4 separate regions of the Homo sapiens genome follow, and regions 1, 2 and 3 are each linked to region 4. Evidence: promoter capture Hi-C in 16 types of primary human blood cells and fetal thymus (Javierre and others, 2016). All regions are on one chromosome and are shown on one strand. The core of a region is centred on a gene start or on the middle of the fragment in contact, and the rest is flanking DNA. Distances in the headings are between cores, read along the strand shown.

The links. Contacts are between HindIII fragments. The CHiCAGO score rates a contact against its expected background, and 5 or more counts as called.
Region 1: a contact is called between a fragment that was not itself captured here and the fragment with the promoter of NTSR2 in region 4, in 4 of 17 cell types (activated CD4 T cells, total CD4 T cells, total CD8 T cells and 1 more). The highest score is 9.7, in activated CD4 T cells.
Region 2: a contact is called between a fragment that was not itself captured here and the fragment with the promoter of NTSR2 in region 4, in 1 of 17 cell types (total B cells). The highest score is 5.8, in total B cells.
Region 3: a fragment that was not itself captured here is called in contact with the fragment with the promoter of NTSR2 in region 4 in 1 of 17 cell types (neutrophils); the score reaches 5.2 in neutrophils.

The regions. Positions count from the first base shown.
Region 1 is chr2:13,018,706-13,021,731 of GRCh38, reverse strand. All of the region lies in intron 1 of LOC105373436 (a long non-coding RNA gene), which reads right to left. Among named protein-coding and RNA genes, the nearest start is that of MIR3125, 280 kb to the right of the region's middle. The HindIII fragment of the contact is 179 bases long and covers 1,393-1,571 here.
Region 2 is chr2:13,000,411-13,003,178 of GRCh38, reverse strand. It overlaps LOC100506474 (a long non-coding RNA gene), which reads left to right. Exons shown (of 6, transcript NR_038434.1): 3 at 571-755; 4 at 1,438-1,591. LOC105373436 (a long non-coding RNA gene) reads right to left here and starts at 2,390. Exons shown (of 5, transcript XR_001739293.2): 1 at 2,162-2,390. The HindIII fragment of the contact is 4,127 bases long and covers 1-2,768 here.
Region 3 is chr2:12,930,162-12,933,081 of GRCh38, reverse strand. No RefSeq gene overlaps it. Among named protein-coding and RNA genes, the nearest start is that of MIR3125, 190 kb to the right of the region's middle. The HindIII fragment of the contact is 3,999 bases long and covers 1-2,920 here.
Region 4 is chr2:11,668,650-11,671,505 of GRCh38, reverse strand. NTSR2 (neurotensin receptor 2) reads left to right here and starts at 1,311. Exons shown (of 4, transcript NM_012344.4): 1 at 1,311-2,000. The coding sequence starts at 1,377. RefSeq lists an enhancer at 1,334-1,870. The HindIII fragment of the contact is 6,464 bases long and covers 1-2,856 here.

The DNA of each region.
Region 1 (3,026 bases), core at 233-2,732, 1.4 Mb before region 4:
GCATTTTTAACACTTGAGGAACTTGTCACATAAATCATTACATCATACTCTAAGACTCCATTAGCTTTTTGATGCTCGTGCTTGCTGGCTAGTCAGTGAAGAGACTTAACTACTAGTGTCTGTAGAAAGAATTCACGCCCTTCACTCATCAACTCTCAAAGTCACACAAAGATACAGATATATCCAGAAAATATCACATGGTGCACATCCCACAGTGGGGGGGAGGGTAGCCTCTTGAGATTGAAGCTGAAAGAATACAATTCTCTTTCTAGTGATACTGCTTAGTAGAGGCATAAAGTGAGGAAGTTAGTTGCATTTCTGAGCCCAGTATCTTCATATAGCAAACAGGGCTTTAAATTGAATTCCTAACTTACACCATTATGTCCTTCGCAATGAGATGCCTTTGAAGCAATTACACACGTACTACATAAAGGGGAACCTGTTAGCAAATTTAATATATTAATTATCCCAATATGTAGTGTGTTAGCTCTTTTTCACTGCTTTAAATTGGGGTATAATTTCTATATACAAAACTGTACCTATTTTAAATGTTCAGATGAATGTGTTTTGAAATTTCATACTTTCATGTAACTCCAAAAGAATAGATAAAAGATACAGAGTTTTCCACCATGACAACAATTCCCTTGGACCACTCACCAGGCAATTCTAGCTGCCTGCCTCACAAGAGAGGCAGTCACCTTCTGATTTCTGCATTGCCTATTTTTGATCTTCAGATAAACAGAATTGCGATATGTGTTTTTATGTCTAGTTTCTTGCTCTCTATATAATGTTTCTGAAACCCAACCATGTAGTTGTGTATATCTTCACTCCTTTTATTCATTTTCAATTCTATGAATATACCACTATTTGTTTATTTATTGTACTATTGATGGATATTTGTGTTATTTCCAGTTTTGGGCTATAATGAATCAAATTGCTATGAACATTCTTAAATAAGTCTTTTTGGGACACTTATTTTAATATATCTTAGAAAAATATCTAGGAGGGACAACGCTGAGGATTAAGGGAGGTGAATGCATGGACTTGATAAGAAACTGTTGACATTTCTTCCATAGTGCTTATCCCATGATACACACCCAGCAGGAATATGCGGGTGTCCAGCTGCTGCACATATTTGCAACATTTAGTATTGTTTGTGTTGTAGCCAAATCAGAGATGTGAGATGTGGGAGATGGATCCCCCACTCCTGCAACAGGGTAGCACAGCAGGCTCCAAACCCGATCAGCAAATGACTTGAGAAAACAAGGAGGGGTGACCGGTTTGGGGGTCGATGCTTTTTGAGGAGTAGAGCTGGCATGAGGGTTACTGCATGTAAGTCAGAGTTTGCATGGTTCAAACTTTCAACTAGCTTCGCCTTTGTAATGTAAAGCTTTCTAGTAAGTGTAAAATGGTATCTTCTTTTAGTTTTAATTTAATTTTATCCAATGACTAATGATGTTGAACAAATTTAAATAACCTGCTGACCACTCATACCTTCCTTTATTATCAGTTGCAAGCTATTGCCGATTTAATTGTTTTATTTTCTTTACATTGGTGATGTGTTGGAAGCTTTATGTTTTGAATATGAGTCTTTCACAAGATATGTGTGTGTATAAATATATATATAAACATATGTACATGCACATATACATGTAACACATGCACACATAGAAAATACTTTTCATGCAGAACAATTTTGCTGGTGATGATTTATTACAGTAGACCCATAAACAACATGAGGTTAGGGGGAACCAACTTCCTCCATAGTCACAAATTGATGTATAGCTTTTGACTTCCCCCAAACTTAACTACTAATAGACTACTGCTGACAAGAAGCCGTACCGAAAACATAAACACTTTATTACCATGTATTTTGTATGTTAGATGTATTACGTACTATAGTCTTACAGTAAAGTTAGCTAGAGAAAAGAAAATGTTATTAAGAAAATTATAAGGAAGAGAAAATATATTTACTATTTATTAAGTGAAAGTGGATCATCATGAAAGTCTATATTCTCATCTTCACGTTGACTAGGCTGAGAAAAAGGAAGAGAGGTTTTGGTCTTGCTGTCTTAGAACTGGTAGAGGCTGAAGAGGTAGAAGGAAGAGACAGGAGAGAGAGGCACGTGGTGTAACTTTATGGAAATACATCATAATTTCTGTCAACATTTTTGCTTTTTAATTTATCTACAAATATTTCTATATGGTACCAATTCTTCCCCCACCATTTGTTGTAGTCTCAGTGCCCATATCCTACAAGGGTCTATCTATGCTGTAAAAGCATTTCAAAGTAGTCTTGAATAATCAGAATGATTCTTCCAGATTGTCTAATAACAATTTGTTTTCTGCACTGTTTTTTCCATCTCCCTCCTCATCATCTGATACTGGTTCAGAAGCACTCAACTCCATCCAAGTTGTCTTCTGTTAATTCCTCCAGTGTGGTATCTTTTCACTTTTGAATTTCTCTCAAGACTTATACCTTGAAACCCTTCACACCCACCTTTTTTTTTTTTGCCATATGCATAATCTCTTTCATTATTTCTTTGATTGGCTCTGTTGTAAACCCAGTGAAGTCATTCACAACACCTGGACCCAGTTTTCTCCCATAGAAATGTATTGTTTTGGGCTTGATGGCTTTCATGAATTTTTCCATAGCAATAATGGCATTTTCAATGGTGTGACCCTTCTAGACATTCATAATGTTTTCTCTATCAGTGTTCCCTTCCACAGCATTGACAATCCTTTCCATAGAGTACCATGTGTAATGAGCATTAACAGTCCTTCTGACCTCCCGATCTAGAGGCTGAATTAGAAACACTGTGTTTAGGGACAAGTAGATCACTTCAGTGATTTCAGTGTTGACCTCTAGGGCTTCTGGATGGCAAGAAGCATGATCTATTATCAAAAGCTTTAAAAGGCAATCCCTTACTAGGAAGGTACTTCCTGACTTTAGGGACAAAGCATCAATGGAACCAGTTAAGAAGGAGTTTTGATTGTCCAGGCCAACTTGTTGTACAGTCAGAAGA
Region 2 (2,768 bases), core at 244-2,743, 1.3 Mb before region 4:
GGTGATCTCTGCAAGAAAATAAAACTAAGATAAACTAGTATCTGCTACTGATAAATATTTAACAGATGTGGTCCAAATCCCTCTGCCAGCTGGAGGAAGGAAAAAAGTTCTATTTTACTGCTTGGATATAATTATTGGCCACATTTCTCCAAGCAAAGACAGTGACATTGGCTCACTCCCCAGGAGAACTTTCTTCTGATCTTGGCACTAGGATTTGCTTTTCTTTAACAGATTGCAGCAATATACCCTTCATTTGACCCAGTTTATTCATTCAAAAGATACCTGGAGCCAAAACCATGTATGAGAAATAGCAAAGGAAGAGGCAGGCACAAGCTGTGTTTATATACCCACCAAAGGACTACAGCAAAACACATATATTCTAGTCAGCTCTGAGTGCACCTGTCTGTGTCAACAGTAGACCAGCGTGGTCTGGCAGATGACCATATGACCCAGCTGATTCACTCCGGAGTTAGAGGAACTTTTCCCAGACCCTGAAAGTCACCTTTTTAGACAACTTCGCAAACAGCCATCCTTGTTCACGGTATCATGCCCCTTGTCACTGCTAAACAGACCGTTTGCAAAGAAATTTCCTAAACATCACCACTGAGGCTCCTTCCAGCAATGACTCTGGTCCATCATTGGGATTGCTGAGCAGCTGTTTCATAACATGAACAAGGATGTTTTAACCATGTTTCTTGACCTGGCCATTTGGATCCCAAGGATGTTTTGGTCCAAGAATAAATTCCAGAGCTTAGGTAGGTTACATACCACAACTATATTCATTTCCTACTTCTATTCTTTCTCTGTGCAATCCTTTTCCTAGCACTGTAACTGAAAGTATTTTTCTAAAACATTAATGTGATCATACTATGTCTCTGCTGAAAAGCCATCAATCACTATCTACCTATTACTGACAAAAACATGACATTCTGATCCCACCTGATCTGCTCTTTCTCATCAACAACTCTTCTCCTTATGTAATTTCTCACCTGGTGACCAACCACACCCTGCATGTGCTATACATTCATTTATGCTTTTTCACCTGCTCAAGGCCCCCAGAATTATTTTCAAGTATTATTTTTCCCAACACAAAGCATCAGTCGATACCTGTAGTAAGTCTGAAGCATCTCAGAAGCATTTATTGACAACCCAGTCTTCTACTCTCCTCTGCCTCCAAACACACAGCACATACATTTTGTCCCAAACATTTGTAGGCCATCATTGTCTTTTGCCTGGCATTTCTTTACTAATTAATATATATTTTTATTCATGTGTGTATATTTATCTCACCAATATTTGGGAGCAGAGCCTATGTGTTATTTTAGTTATACAGGTTGTTGGGTGATATGGCTGTGAACCTGATATGCTATAGATTATAAGGGGAGGTGGAACCTGTCACACTTCCTCTTCCTCCATCACTGGTTGTCTGTCTCAAAGCTCACCGAAGAAGACAGGAAAACTTGTCAGATGGGGAAGGATGTGTCAAGAGCATGCACACAGATTTACTCTTCAGCTAGAAGCTCCAATTCCTAGATGATCTGAATCCAACTCAGAGTGCTTGCACCTGTTTCCTGCCACACAGCTAGAGCTGGTGAGTCTGATTTAAGTAATTCTACAGGAAGACAAGGCTTACATAAGAATAAGTAGTCGAGTAGACAGATATTTCCTCCATGGAATCTGCCTTGTTCAGAAACAAGTTTAATCAGTTACTGACTTATAGTAAGAATGTGAATGTCATAATTTTATTAAAAGTTTTTATAAATAATTTCATTGTAATTTAAGCATCGATGAAAATGTGTTGTATATGGTCATGTACTTGCTTTGTTTTCTTTTTGTTTATTCTATCGACTTTTACGAAGCACTTACACTGTGCATGAAGACACATGGGATAGAACACTATCCCTGCTATTGAGGAATCCCCTGTAACCATTTCAGTGACAGAACAGCTGAAGCTCAGTATGGTCAAGCGACTGGCCACTGGCCAGACCTGATTGTCATGAACTTCAGTTAAGGTCCTCTGATTCCCATCACAGTCTCTTTCCACTCCTTATGCTGTTTCATGGCCCATGTTCAGGGAGTGACTCTGGTCTGCCTGGATTTCTGAAATCTTATACGGATGGCTGGTGAGCTTAGAATAAAGATGCAACATGAGGAGGCGTACCTGTTTCCCATATGACTTCCAGGAGGCCAGGAGAGCAGTCTTCCCGAGTCAGGCAGGAGCACTGTGCCTAAAGCAGCTTCCCGGGGAGAGCAGTGACGTTCCCGGTCTCAGAGAATATCTGAACCCCATCGCCCCCACCAGTTTACCTTTCAAAATGCTTCTTTCCACTGGCACGCAGTGCTCAGTAAGACCTCACAGTTTCCCTGGGCTGTGGTCCAATTTGATTACCTCCTTTTTCCATGCTTGGAAGCTGCTATGCAATAATCTTTTTAACCTCTGCAAAGCCAGGACAAATGTGACAGCAAAAGCAATGTTAGTACTTGAGGACGTTTTCTCCTTTTAGATTTTGAGGATTTATTTCATGTTTATAAAGAGAGCAGAAAAACTCTGTCACTTTCTGTTGGTGTTATCCTGGTCATCTCAGAGCTCTCATTAACTCTTATCCTACCCCCAGCAGAAACTAGAGAATTCTGAGGAAAACACACTTTCACTTCATGGAAATATCTCAGCCACTCTTTCCAGCGTTGCTTTTCCTTCCATCCTAACCATCTTGTTTTGATCTTAAATATCTTCAGAATCTGACTTTTGAAATTTATTTTTATATCTC
Region 3 (2,920 bases), core at 261-2,760, 1.3 Mb before region 4:
AAAAATTGAAAAGAATCTAAATTATTCAATAGCTGGAAGTACTTATTTAAATTATGGTATATTTATACAGTGGAATTACATATCTATAAAAATGAAAAGTTATATAGGCATATTCCTCAATATAGAAAATCTCCTTCCAGGACACTAGATGTCAGCTACATGAATGCAGTTTTTATGTATTCTGTTCACTATCATAGCTCTAGAGCCTAGACTCAAGCACAAAGTACGCTGTCAATAAATACATTTTGAAAACATGTTTGTTAAACGTGGTAGCCAGAATTCTAAAATGCCCCTTGACTTTTGCCCCAGTGGCATTCCCAGGATATACTACATTACACAGCAAAAGGGATTTTGCAGATGTCATTATGGTTACTTATCAGTTGATCTTAAGATAGGGGAGGTCATCTTGGTAGACCTAACCTAATGGTAAGAGCCCTTTGAAAATAGGAATTTTCCCAGATAATAGTAGAAGAGAAGTTTCGAGAGATTAGAAGTGGGGAGAGATTTGACCTGGAGGCGGCTGTCCATTGCTGAGATAGAGGGTCATTGTCAAGGACCTGAGAGGAGCCTCTAGGAGCAAAATTGGTCCGTGGCCAGCACCCAGCAAGAATAAAAAAGGTCCTCAGTTTTGCAGTGACAAAAAACTCAAGTCTGCCCAAGACCAGAATGAGCTTGGAAGCAGATTCTTCCCCAGGGCCTCCAGATAAGAGCCCAGCTGGGCACATTATCTTGACTTTGTCCTTGTGAGATCCTAAGCAGAGAATCCAATCGAGCCTGCCTGGAAATCTGACCTGCAGAACTATGAGATAAATGGGAGTTGTTTTCAGCTAAATTTGTGATAAGTTGGTGTTTAGCAATAGGAAGCTAATAAATTAGACAAAATAAGAAAGTTACAAACAGCATATACAGTATGATTCCCTTTTTTGTTTATATATTCATGTATTTACGAGTTTATAGAAGAAGACCAACTGAAACATATGCACAAAGATGTTAGCAGTAGGGTTTTGGTTGCTAAATTAAATTAAATTGAACAGACCTAGTTTCATTTAACTAGTAGACATCTGGGAAGTCTGATACCCATGATTGTCATGGGCTAAATCTCGTGCAAATAAACTTAAGCCCTTTTCAAATGACACTTGACCATTGGAATTAATCTCTTCTTGCTGTTTGTTCACAGAGAAGTATAGTTCTGGCTGTGAGATCTCAAAAATCAGAGTTCAAATCCTAACTTCACTGCTTAGGAGGTTTTTAAACTAGGGTGTTTTAAATAACCTCTTATAGTTTTAGTTTCCTTCCATCTGAAATCTGAATGAGAATACTCACCAGTGAGGATCATTATGAAGATTCAATGGGATGATAAATGCAGAGGACATAGTACCACCATTACTAAGTACCTGGCCAACTCTGCCACCTACATTCACTAGTTGTTGTTCTTAACGCTTTGATAAGCATTGAGCTCCTTTAAGAGTTTCCAATTTGGTCTTTCCCAGGATCTTTCTGTGAGCATGTCATAGTATTCTCTAGTGTCTAGCACAGTGCCTGGCAAATACCAAGTGCTTAGTAACAACTTCTGGTTCAATTAATTCACGAATGAGTAAAATGAATATTGGTAAAGTTGAATGCTTGGCTCCCAAGACAATGCAGATTGCAGTCACACAGCACTACCACGAGATGTCAGTATAAATAGGAAAGCTCTACAATTCAGGACTATTCTGGACCATCTTCCCCATCCCTCTTCTAGGGCTCCCGGGAAAACACACAACTGCATTACTGAAGGCAGAGAGCAACCTGCCAGGACTTTGCTCACCTCTCTCCTATTTTCACTGTGTGGTTTAATGCCTTAAAAACACAATTCCTGATGTACAGAGAAAAAAATATCTCTGCTGAGCTTGCCCTAAATAAAGACCCAAGAGACCTCATTTGGGGCCACTTCTGTATGCACACCCTCTTTCCTGTCCCTGCCTTAAATCTACATTTTGGGCTTGGATAAGGAGGTGGTGCCATAAGGAAGAACATGCAGAGTCAAATTCTGATTCCTTTACTTACTAGTTGTGTGTGTGTGCAAGTTTCTCAACTTTTCTGAGCTTCATTTTGTCATATGAAAAAATAAGAAAACCAATATATAGAGATTACTGGTGCAATGTTGCAACCATGCAGATTTAAGCAGAATAGCCTTCTCTAAAGACTAATTCCAAGACTGTCCTGGAATCAAAAGGAAGTATTTTCTTTGCAACTCTGGATGGATATGGACAGTAAGCCCACAACTACTTGGCCTAGAGCATTCTATCTCCAACAGGTGCACAAGTCTCTGAAAAAGGCTTACTTTGACATGGCCCCCAATGGTAATTTACACTTGCAAAAACACACTCTATGGAGCACAGAGATTGTTCCTCAGCTCAGCAGACTCTAAAAAAAGGGTATGGATGTCATTGTCTCTCTGGCTTCCTGTGGTCTCCATAAAACCTCCAAGTAGAGTATTTTGGGCTCATAAAAATGTCCGCAGCCCATTTCTCATCTGCTTTAATGATGTTTCCTAATGGTTAATGTTGAGATTGGCATCTTTTCTCTGGGGAAAGTGTTGTGAGACTGGCTTTCCCCTTCCCCAAAATAGCTGGTGCACACAGCCCATGAGCTGGAATGCAGAGCTAGGATTTTTCTCTTCCCATGAAGAGATATATCCTCCAAGATATGGGAACTCTACCTCATTTTTTGCAGTAACAGGCAGAACGGCCCTATTGCCACTGGGAAACAGTTGACACACCCGTTCAAGGAACTCTCTCATGGTGTGCCCACCAGGAGGGAGGAATGAAATAGACAATAAAGAAAAAGATATTACTTAGCATAGATTATGTGTGAAAAGGGTTTTATGAGCTATATTTTATAGATTAAAAAATCTTGTTTTAGAAAGAAGCACATTATT
Region 4 (2,856 bases), core at 62-2,561:
ACTCTGTCTCAAAATAAATAATAAATAAATACAATTAAAACTTCAAAATACCATTTAGGAAGGAGCTATAAACCATTAAAAAAATCACATATTCTGACAAAGAAAGCCCTCTTCCTTTCTTTGTCCCTCAATTGCAAAACACATCAGACTGAATATATGTCTAACCACTTCTGCTCAATTTACTTTCTTTGTGGGATGTTCTCATTTGTAGTTACAACTGGCTACATAATTTGCAAGACTCTATACAAAATGAAATTGCAGGGTTCCTTGTTCAAAAATGATGCAGAATTCCCAGATGACAACAGCATTTGACTCAGGACAAGGCCTTTTCAAGCATGGGACCCCATGCAAAAACACAGTCACATGCCTAAGAATCCAGCCCTGGTTGTTAATGATTCTTGTCGTTCAATAAATGCTTATAATTTCAATAAATTTATTGTGCAGAGTAAAAGTATATTTACATAATCTCAATTTCAATGTAGATATGGTTATATGCCCACATGGAAGATTAAACTGATTATCACCGGGCCATAATAACTTTGCTGAAGACAAAAAAGTCAGGATCCCTGGGTTCCAATTTCAATTCTGCCCCTCAGTAAATACCAGGGGTTCTTGGATGAAATGAGAAGGCCTCTGGGCTTTTCAGCTCTAAAGTTCGGGTGTTCTGCATGAATTTAGAAAAGTGAAAGGTTTTAAAACATGCTAAAAACACTTCTCACTTCATCCCCTAGCTCCATGAGAATGACACTCTCAAAGGACTGGGAAAGTGTGGCACCATGAGGATGTATTCTCAGTGACAAAGGAGCTTCCTGGGGCTCTTAGGATGGCATTGAAACAGCCCTTTAGCAAGAACAATAACAAAATGCTGAAGTGCTGGGAAAGTCTTTCCCAAGATCTCTCCCGAGCTGCACACACACACAAATCAACACAAGGGCCAAGGCGCAAGACGAAAGCACCATGTCTATTTATGCTGCAGGTAGAAACTTCCACACACACGTTCGCTCATTTCATCTTCCCAGAAATTCTGCAGTGTCGATAATAAAGTTGCAAAACCAGATTCAGAGAGGTTAAAAAACTTGCCCAAGTTCACAAAGTTCGAAAGTGGTGGAGTTCGGCCCAACTCGGGACTATCAGCCCCTGAAGGAACCCAACCCCCTTTCCACCAGCACGCGCTTCCCTGGGTTGAACTGAACCCAGACGTGTGACCGACGCTAACGGGCTGGCACTCGCGGTCCCACGTTGGCTCAGGGACACCCTTTCGGGGGCGTGTCCTCCCAGTTCTAGAGGTTCCCAGAGAAGAGGAGGTGCTCACTAACCAGGCAGCTCGCCCAGACTCCGGGCAGTGAGAGGGAGGGAGCGCCGGCCGCGGGAGCGGGATGGAAACCAGCAGCCCGCGGCCCCCGCGGCCCAGCTCCAACCCGGGGCTGAGCCTGGACGCCCGGCTGGGCGTGGACACTCGCCTCTGGGCCAAGGTGCTGTTCACCGCGCTCTACGCACTCATCTGGGCGCTGGGCGCGGCGGGCAATGCGCTGTCCGCGCACGTGGTGCTGAAGGCGCGGGCCGGGCGCGCGGGGCGCCTGCGCCACCACGTGCTCAGCCTGGCGCTCGCGGGCCTGCTGCTGCTGCTGGTCGGCGTGCCGGTGGAGCTCTACAGCTTCGTGTGGTTCCACTACCCCTGGGTCTTCGGCGACCTGGGCTGCCGCGGCTACTACTTCGTGCACGAGCTGTGCGCCTACGCCACGGTGCTGAGCGTGGCAGGCCTGAGCGCCGAGCGCTGCCTAGCCGTGTGCCAGCCCCTGCGTGCCCGCAGCCTGCTGACGCCACGCCGGACCCGGTGGCTGGTGGCGCTCTCGTGGGCCGCCTCGCTCGGCCTCGCCCTGCCCATGGCCGTCATCATGGGGCAGAAGCACGAACTCGAGACGGCGGACGGGGAGCCGGAGCCCGCCTCGCGAGTGTGCACGGTGCTGGTGAGCCGCACCGCGCTCCAAGTCTTTATCCAGGTAAGGGCGTGGAGAGCGGGAGTCGGGGGAGGGGGGGTGGGGGGGCGGTGCTGGGAGGAGGGAACCCCCTCTCCCCGGGGAACAGACATTTTCGACTCTAATGCTCGCCACCACCCAGCAAGTTGGGTCTTGTTGCTCTGTCCCATTTTACTAGAAGGAGGGAGGCGTGGCCAAAGTGAAGCATTGAGAGAAGTCCCGATTTCAATTCAAAATTAACTCCAAAGTCAGTGTTCCCACTCTTGCGAGAGTGGTGCTCAGACATTTGGGCGTAAAGTTGCCTGCAGAGCCTGTGAAAATCCGGAGTCCATGACCCACCCAGGTTCCTGCCTCAGTAGCCCGAAGTCTGTGTTCCAACGAGCTCCCCAGACGGCTCTGGAGAGGGCCTCCCTGGAGGTAGGGTGGGGACGGGGAAGGCACTCCCGGCCTCTCTTCCAGAGGCCTGATCAGGCTTCTAACCTCATTTCCTGTTACCGTCTCCCTGGCAGCCTTGCCTCCTCCAGGCCACTTGTCCCCCCACACCTCTTGCTCCCGCTTTCCCCGAACCCCACACCATGCCCAGCCTCTGGCTTTTAAGTCAAAAGCTCATTCTTCTGCTTTTGGTTCCAACCCTTCTTATTCCCCAAAGTGCAGCTCTGATCTCACCTCCTCCCCAACTCCAGGGACTCTCCCGTCTTCTGAATTCTCTCAGCATGTGATGTATTTGCAGCACTTCACAATGCATTTTCTGAAAGTGATGCTCACCTTTCGAAGTGTCTGTCTCCATTTCCGCATCGTTCTACAAGCCAGTGTCCTCTGGTCGCTTGCTCTAGTCACATTAGACCATGATCTCATGTATCCAGCACATTGGGGAAGTGGG